Linked DNA regions of Homo sapiens: region 1 is linked to region 2. The links are contacts of gene promoters, found by promoter capture Hi-C in blood cells and fetal thymus (Javierre and others, 2016). All regions are on one chromosome and are shown on one strand. Each heading gives the region's core, a stretch centred on a gene start or on the middle of the fragment in contact. The rest is flanking DNA. Distances are from core to core; before and after follow the strand shown.

The links. The method cuts DNA at HindIII sites, captures the fragments that hold promoters and counts their contacts. A CHiCAGO score of 5 or more calls a contact.
Region 1: a contact is called between a fragment that was not itself captured here and the fragment with the promoter of SNX33 in region 2, in 5 of 17 cell types (naive CD4 T cells, naive CD8 T cells, total CD4 T cells and 2 more). The highest score is 6.2, in naive CD4 T cells.

What each region holds. Positions count from the first base shown.
Region 1 is chr15:75,378,459-75,382,780 of GRCh38, reverse strand. It overlaps SIN3A (SIN3 transcription regulator family member A), which reads left to right. Exons shown (of 21, transcript NM_001145358.2): 18 at 1,076-1,168; 19 at 2,058-2,152. Among named protein-coding and RNA genes, the nearest start is that of MAN2C1, 12 kb to the right of the region's middle. The HindIII fragment of the contact is 2,034 bases long and covers 509-2,542 here.
Region 2 is chr15:75,645,582-75,649,951 of GRCh38, reverse strand. SNX33 (sorting nexin 33) reads right to left here and starts at 2,040. Exons shown (of 2, transcript NM_153271.2): 1 at 1-2,040. The coding sequence starts at 849. RefSeq lists an enhancer at 1,565-2,256 and a silencer at 1,882-2,421. The HindIII fragment of the contact is 30,102 bases long and covers 1-3,400 here.

The sequences.
Region 1 (4,322 bases), core at 276-2,775, 270 kb after region 2:
GAGATGTGGTTTCACCATGTTGGGCAGGCTTGTCTCAAACTCCTGGCCTCAAGTGATCTGCCCGCCTTAGCCTCCCAAAGTGCTGGGATTACAGGTGTGAGCCACTGCATCTGACCGGAAATGGTCTTTAATGTATTTTTGCTCAATTAACAACACTTCTGGGTCTTTATTGTCTTTTTTATGGCTATTTGATATTCACTTTTTAGAGAATTAATGCCTGTATTGGTGGACATTTAGGTTGTTTCCAATTTTTCACCATTATAATGGATAATTATAAAAGCAAATAGTTGGAAACATCCTAGACGTCCAACCCACTATGGGGACTGGTTAATGACATCCTGTTATGAATACTGGAGACAGATTTTGCAATTCTTAAATTATAAATTGTGAAAATGCAGGGTCTGCCCCCACCCCGAAATCTATTTTGGAAATAACTGTATTTGTGTGTGTATATATTATGTTATTGTCAGGTTGTAAGCTTTACTAGCAGAGAGCAATTTTTAAAGCTTTAAAAGAACACTGAGCTAGATCTAGCTTCTGGCTCTGCATGTATATTGATTAGTGGTGTGCCTTGAGAAACCAGAACTCTTCTGAATTTCAGTTTTGTCTCTGTGTAAAATGAAGAAGGTTGAAATAAAAAATTCTCAGGTTTCCTTCCAGGCTCTGACCTTCTCCATGTGATTCTGATAGTTACCTCCTCTATTACGTCCTAGAAGTGGGATTACCAATGGACAGAGCATTGACATTTTGTGGTTCTGGCTACATGTGCCATATTTCTTTCTGACAAAATATTTGTTTTGTAAAACATTCTTACTGACATTGATTATTATTTTAGCGAATTCTAGAAGTTTGAAACATGAAATAGTACCTTTTGCTTTAATATATTTCATTTTACTTGTAGTAAGTGTAGACTTTTGCCTTTATCACTGGCCACCCAAGATCTAGTATCTTCCTCATCTCTTCAGTTGGAGCAAAGTTTACTAAGTTTATTGCCTCTGCACCTCTCATTCCTTGAGAAGATAGATTACAGCTACAGAGACGGTCTTTTGTTTACGCTTAGGTTTCTTATTTGCAGCTTATGTTTATTCAGAGCCAAGGCCAGGTCCAGCTGACTATTGAGCTTCTGGACACAGAAGAGGAGAATTCGGATGACCCTGTGGAAGCAGAGGTATGAGCAAGTACATCACAGACCCCAGGTGCCAAGCAGAGCTGGCGTGCCTTGAGAGTCTGTCCAGTGACCCTGTCTGCCAAAAGGCCAAGGCACCTCAGGCCTGTTTAAGGGTCAGGACCTGGATGCTTAAAGTACAAGTCAATCCAGCCATGTCTTCAGCTGAAGAGACGGGCTGCCTGGTTATAGATGTTAACCTCATCTTGCACTTAGTAAAGCTATCTCCTCTAAGGAAGTCTTATGGTTGGCAGCTTTCCTGTTTTTTCCTAAAGTATAAAAAACAACAAATGAGGTCTTTCTCATGTCATCTTGATTCTTTGTGTCATGTTTACTTTTTATTGGACTGATAAAGTCCAGAGTTTTCAACCCCTGAATAGACAGGTGTGATTATCATAGTTGGTTATGGCAGATAATGTACACAGGAGATGCAGGCCATATGTATGATGTTGGGGGGGGTCGTGTGGGATGACTTGTTTTGGTGGGAATGTTGGCTTGTTGGCAGATCTTTTTTTTTTTTTTTTTTTTTAAGCGATGTCAGAAATCTAGATTGTAATGTGAAGGAAACTTTCACACATTTGCCACTATAAATTTTGTTCTTTAACAAAATGCTCTGTGGGGAAATGAAACTTGTCAGTGAGCCAGCTTCTACCTGTTTATGACTTCTCATAACCTTAGCACCTCAGAAACTTAGCAGTATTGCTGGCTAACAGAATTTTTAATCCGTGTTCCAATACCTACTAACAATCATGTCTTTATAGAAAGGGACTTTTTTGATCTTGAAATTTATGAATTCGGGGCATTGTAATCATAGAATTTACTAGAGTGCCCAATGCATTAGGAGCTGTTTTTGTGATTTCCTTCCACCTGTATTTTGTGTTTGCCATCTTAGCGCTGGTCAGACTACGTGGAGCGATACATGAATTCAGATACTACCTCGCCTGAGCTTCGTGAACATCTAGCACAGAAACCAGTATTTCTCCCCAGGTGAGTGAGCCATGTCATCTGTCAGCAGTCCATACTGTGCATGATTGAGGAATGGAGAGTTAAATGACTTTCACGTTCTTGGCCTTCACATATTTTATTCATTTGTTCTATCTGCTGGGGATGCTAATTCAAGGTTTTATATGGCTGTCACAACATGAGCTTACCTGGAGCATGTGTCAAAGCATCTGGGAGGTGAGAGTTGTAGAGAATCAACAATAACCTCCGTACTTTGGATGGGAATGTGTGTCAGAGTCTCCATGGTTCGATGGAAGAGGACTCACAGGACTCTGCATATAGTCAGACTGATTTAGTACAGCGAGAAGATGCAAAGCAGAATCAGCAAAGCGAAAAGGTGCCTGTGGCAAAGCTGGAGGAAGCCAGGCTCAAGCTTCCTAGAATCCTCTCCCAGTGGAGTCACACAGGACACTCTTAATTCTTCCAACAATGAATGTGACAACACATGCAAAATGCTGTCTACCAGGGCAGCTCATTAGAGACTCTGTGCCAGGATTTTTATTGAGATGTAGTCATCTAGGCACTGTATGCCTAGCATGTACCAAAATCCCAAACTCTCAGAAAGAAAGCACATTTTCAGCATAAGCTATAGAGTTTGTACAAATAGTTTAGGTACAGTGAGACACTTATATGAGTTAAGGAATGGTAGAACATTGCCCAAAATCCAAGATCCCAGCCCCCAGCCAAGGGCCAACTTTTATAAGCAGGCTTTTCAAAGAATAGCAATCTTAGGCCTGCTACATTAACTCTTTTCTGCACAGAATTTTAAAAATGTTCCCTCTGTGTATAGGCAGATTGTGATACTGATCCTCCAAGTATATGAAAACAGTTTAAGAAGTATAAAATGGGTAGAATGGCTTTCTTCCTTCCTAAAAGTTTTGAATTGAAATCTTATGTCTTAGGTTTCCAAGAAAGTATCATCCCAGTGTTATTAGACTTATTGAGTCCTAATGAGAACATGGGAAAAGAGATACCAGCAAAAAGGGCCCTGCCGGGTTCTCCATTCATTGAATCATTTAACACATTTGAGCAGTTGCTCTGTGTCAGGTTCCTCTCAACAAAACAGGCTCCATGCTAATAACATACTACAATAAACCTGTCATCATGTGTCTCTCACCATGATATGAGGAAGGAGGCACATTTATGTACTGTGAGGAAAAGGAAATTGATATAATCGTTCTGGTGGCAGGGTAGTTGAAGTGTATGGAATCTTCCCTCCAGAATTTCAGTTTCTAATGATTTGTCTGACAGCTAAGGGGCTCATCTTATTGGCCTTGAGACCCCTTACACTCTTAGAGCATGAGTACTCCAAAAAGCTTTTGTTTATATGGATTATACTAGTAATATTTACCAAGTTAGAAATAAAAACAAAGAAATGTTTTCAATCTTTAATTCATTTGAAAAATAACAATATTGGGCTGGGCGCAGTGGCTCACGCCTGTAACTCCAGCACTTTGGGAGGCCGAGGCTGTGGATCACGAGATCAGGAGATCGAGACCATCCTGGCTAACACAGTGAAACCCTGTCTCTACTAAAAATACAGAAAATTAGCTGGGCATGGTGGCAGGCGCCTGTAGTCCAAGCTACTCGGGAGGCTGAGGCAGGAGAATTGCTTGAACCGGAAGGCGGAGGTTGCAGTGAGTGGAGATCGCACCACGGCACTCCAGCCTGGGTGACCGAGTGAGACTCTGCCTCAAAAATAAAATATATATATATATATATATATCCCTATTATATTTTCTTAAATAATATTTTTTAATGAAAAGCTAATTCAAAACAAAAATTAGTGAATAGAGTGGCATTGCTTATATTTTATAAATTTGTTTAGTGTCTGGCTTACCAGAAGAACAGCTGGATTCTCATGTCTGCTTCTATATTCAATCTGTTGCATTATGTATGTTGTTTGATTGAAATATGTGAAGAAAATCTGGCCTCACGCAAATGTGTAGCTGGAAAAAGGAATATTTTCAGATCCTTCAGATAACTGGATATTCTTTGATATGACAACAAAACTACCAGTGATAGTTTTTGTTTTTGTTTTTCTTTTTTGAGACGGAATTTCGCTCTTGTTGCCCAGGCTGGAGTGCAATGGTGTGATCTCAGCTCACTGCAACCCCTGCCTCCCAGGTTTAAGTGATTCTCCTGCCTCAGCCTC
Region 2 (4,370 bases), core at 791-3,290:
GACAGTGAACTTGTGTAGCAGGCGGTTATAGAGCCAGTCAAAGTGTTTGTAGCGCCGGTAGACGGGTGAGGCAGCATGGGTGGGTGTGAGCTTGTAGGAGATGTAGCTTTTGATGCCCTTGAATTTGGTCTGTTTTGTGGGGTCCTCCACAGAGCAGGCAAATGGGTGGGGATTGGCCTTCCACTGGGGGCCACGAGGGCCCATTTCAATGGAGTATGTCTCAGCGATCTTGGCCATCATGGGCACATCACCCAGGATGAAGGCCTCCACTCCAGAACGCACAAAGCATGAGAAACGGTTGAGGTTACGGCCCACCACACTGCCTCGCTTGGCAGATGCCAGGCTGTCCTGCCGCTCCAGTGGTGGCTTGGGCCGGAAGGCCATGTGCTGGCTGGGGTAGGCACCAGGGTAGGAGAGGTTGAGGGGAGGGTGCCCGTTGGTGCCCAGCCCACCAGCCCGTGGCTCCTCCACCACTGTGCATCCGTCGTCCCAGTCATCCCAGTCATCATCATCATCCTCCTCAAAGCTACCCTGGTTTGAGAGGAAGCCACTGCCCCCACCACTCCTAGCTGGGCTGGCCACACTGGGGCTGTTGTACAAGCTCACCTGGGCTCCGGGAGAGCCTGCAGGGCTGCTGGAGTAGTCAGCATGGTTGGTGCTGATGCCAGAACGGACGATCTCCACATAAGAGGCAGGAAAGAGCCCTGTCTCCCCACGGCTGTTCTGGCCCTGCAGCCAGCCATCCAGTGAGGTCTCGCTAAAGATGACCAGGTCCTCATCCTGCTGGATGCTGATTTCCTCCTTGTTCTCACTGTGAAAGTCATAGAGGGCTCGGCCTTTCAGTGCCATGGCTGGGCTGGGTGGTATAGAAAGATGGGAAGGAGAGGGTCCTGCCCAGACCGGGGATGCTCACAAGGCAGTCCAAGAATGCACTCGCAGCTGAATGGCGCTTACACAGTTCAATCTCTCAGGTCCTAAGGTGGGGTCTCAGCACCCACAGATGCTGTCCAGTCTCCCCCTCTTCAAAGCAATGTCCATGGCCCAGAAACTGCCCTATCAGGTCTCCGGGCATATGCTTGTGAGCAGGGAGGGCTCATGTCCACAGTCTCCTCCTCCCTTAGCAGCCTCTGGGGGGTTAGAGGGGAATCTCTCCTAACTCCTACTCCCAGAAGAAAAGTCAAGTGACCTGGAGAAATCTGCCCTGCGAGGGGAAAAATTCGACACTTTCCACTGGAACAACGTTCTAAAATAGAAGAGACTCACTCTGAAACCACCATTCCAGAAACCCGGGCAGGGCTCGGCTGTCCCTCTGGCTCCCAGATTCTTTTGGCGGCTCTCGCTTTGGGAGGCTCTCACATTCCTCTGCAGATCTGCCCCTTCCTCCTTCCTCCTCTTGCTCCTGGGCCACTGGGTTTTCAAAAATCCGGAAAATCCAAGAGGGGCAAGGAGAAAAGCAGCAGCCGCCTGAATCGAGTCCAAGGGTGGATGTGTCCGGCTTCACAACGAGCCAGGCCGGGAAAACAAGGACTGAGGCTTACACAACAGGCCGCCAACTCTTCGACCCCGGCTGCGCAGCCGGAGCCCCCGCCGGCTCGGGCGCCCTCTCCCCGCCCCAGAAGTGGCCAGCCCCAACCCCGGAGGAAGGAGGGGGCGCGACGAGGCTGTCGGGCGACTTCTAGCCACTCGCTGAGTGGTCTCTTTTGTTTGCCTAATTCCTCAGCAGTTTCTGAGCCTGACGCTGACCCTGCTCTGAATCCCAGGAACCCCGTCCAAAGGTAACCCCAGCAGAAACCGGTTCCTCACCCGGGACTTACGACCCCCGATCACCACCCTCGCGTGCACGCACACACTCAACAGTTTGGAGTTTGGAGAGTGAGCTCCGGCGAGCAGATGGCGCGGCCAGCCGTCTGTCCGTCCGTCCTCCTCTCCGCCCTGCGGGGCCCGGCCAGTGGGGGGCGGGCTGCGCCCCCAGCCTGCCTTCCCCGGCGCTCGCAGACCCTCCGCTCCGCCAGCGAGAAGGCAGCTCCAAAACAAAAAGGCGATTCCGGGAGGTGGCGTCCTGAGGAAGGAGGGGATCGCCAAAGGGGAGGTGAGGGGTGGGGAGAGGGAGGAGGGAGGGGGAAGCAGGCTGGAGAATCGGGCAAACTCCGCTGCACTTCCGTGCGTCCCGGCGGGGCAGGGACGGCCAGCTCCGCCCTCCCGCGGGCCCGGGGCGCTGCAGCCGAGCCCCCGCCTACTCCTCCGCGCGGCTTCCCAGCTGGCCAGCGCCCTCGCTCGCTGGCGCTCAGTCCGGGAGGCGAGAGGGAGGAAACGACCCGGGAACGAGGGGGCCCGAGAGCCTCCGGGGCTGGTCCCTGGGACCGCCACCTCCCCTCCTCTCCCTCCGCCTGTCCGCCCTCGCCGGGAGACACCTCACGCCCCCGTGGTTGGAGCGCCCGGCGGGGGAGCTTGCCAGCTGCCGCTGCCTCGCTTCCTGGACTCCGTCATCCTCCTGCCTTTTCCGTGACGCAAATGGAGTAAAACTCCGAAAGTTTGCAAAGCGTGGGGCTGCAAGGAGCACCGCGCCAGAGCCAGGATCGGGAGATCGGGGTGGGGGGAGGGGGGTGCGTGGAAAGCCGCCGCGCCAGCTGGGGTTGGGGAGCAGAGTCGCGGACTCGCCTTCCCACCTTCCCATTCCCCACTCCTGCTCCGCAGGGACGGGTCGTGGCGCAGCTCAGAGATTGTTTTCCGGAGGAACAGAAACGGCCTGCGCGTTCCAGGCGTCTGACCTAAGATACCGAGAGCTGCGGGTGCAGCACCCTAGCCAGACAGGGCGACCCTGCCCTGGGCGACTAGCTTGGAAGGAGGGAAAGACACTACTCTACATCTGCAGCGACAGGGAACAAGTCTAGGTGCCACCCGGTTCCGTGTTGCTTAGTACAGCAGCGGGGACTGGATGTTCTGTGCTAGCCAGCGGCAGCAAGGAGAGAAGTGGTCAGGTAGAGAATCTTCGAGAAGAGGCAAGTGGGATCTGACCCTCGGTCAGCATATCGGGAACACTTTGGGCATTGATTCTGCTAGGCACTGTGCTGGGCACTGGGGAGTAGTACACCACAAGGCAGTCGGGGTTTCTATCCTGGGGGGCTTACAGTCCACCCTCTCTTGTCTTTAATCAATCCATTCTGTCTCAGTCATTCATTCAGCCAAGTCATGCACTCAAGAAACATTAACTGAGTACCTACTCTGCACCAGGCCCCTGAGCTACAAAGACAAATAAGACATTATCCTTATTTTCCAAAAGCTCAGATATGTTGTGACAAGTAGACAAATGCTCCCTGCCCAGTGTGACTAGTTAGTGCCATGAAAAGTGCACATGAGGGTACCTACCCCAGCCTGGGTAGAGCAAGGATCAAGGAAAGCTTCCTGAAGGAGGAAGTGCCTAAGATGAGGCAAAGGCTTCAGGAGGACTCCCTTTCCTGGCTATACCCTGGAGTCTTGTCTACCCTGTCTAGCTAGATCTTCCCTTCATTCTCTCCCTAGTCACTTATTGCAGATTAACTGGTACAAGGTAGTTCTGCTAAAGATGGATACCTTTGGCTGTTTTGAGGGACATGGTTCCCAGACCTCTGGCTCCAAAACCCAGTTTCACTGGTTCAGTGAGTGGATCCGACTCCCTTCGCAGGTCTGGCATTTGACCAGAATAAAGGCCTATGTACAAACCCCAGAAGGCTAGGTATCAATTTGCACAGAGAAATAAAACTGTCAAGCAGAACTGAATTTCTGCATCAATAGATCAAGGCAGTTTGGGCTACCCCTTGGGAAGCCCAGTTACCAGAAAGTTAGCTCAGTGAGTCTGGAACCCCCAAGAGGGGAAAGGGTATGAGGAGTCTCTCAGTCAAGTAACCTTAAAACCTTGCTTCCTGTCATGGGGCAGCCTTCATTCTAAAGACAGTTCGTCCTAGCATCTCTAAGACAGAATATACGTTTTCCCCACGTGCTTTTAGGACCCCCCCCTTCCCTGTGATCTATCTTCTGTCCACATAGCCTTTCTCCAAACTGAGTTTAACAATAGCATCAGGGCTGGGTGCAGTGGCTCACACCTGTAATCCCAGCACTTTGGGAGGCCAAGGCAGGTGGATTACTTGAGCTCAGGAGTTCGAGACCAGCTTGGCCAACATGGCGAAACCCCATCTCTACTAAAAATACAAAAAATTAGCTGGGCGTGATGGCGCATGCCTGTAATCCCAGCTACTCAGGAGGCTGAGGTAGAAGAATTGCTTGAACCCAGGAGGCAGAGGTTGCAGTGAGCCGAGATTGTGCCACTGCACTCTAGCCTGGTGATAGAGCAAGACTCCAATCTCAAAAAAAAAAAAAAAAAGATAGCATCAGCC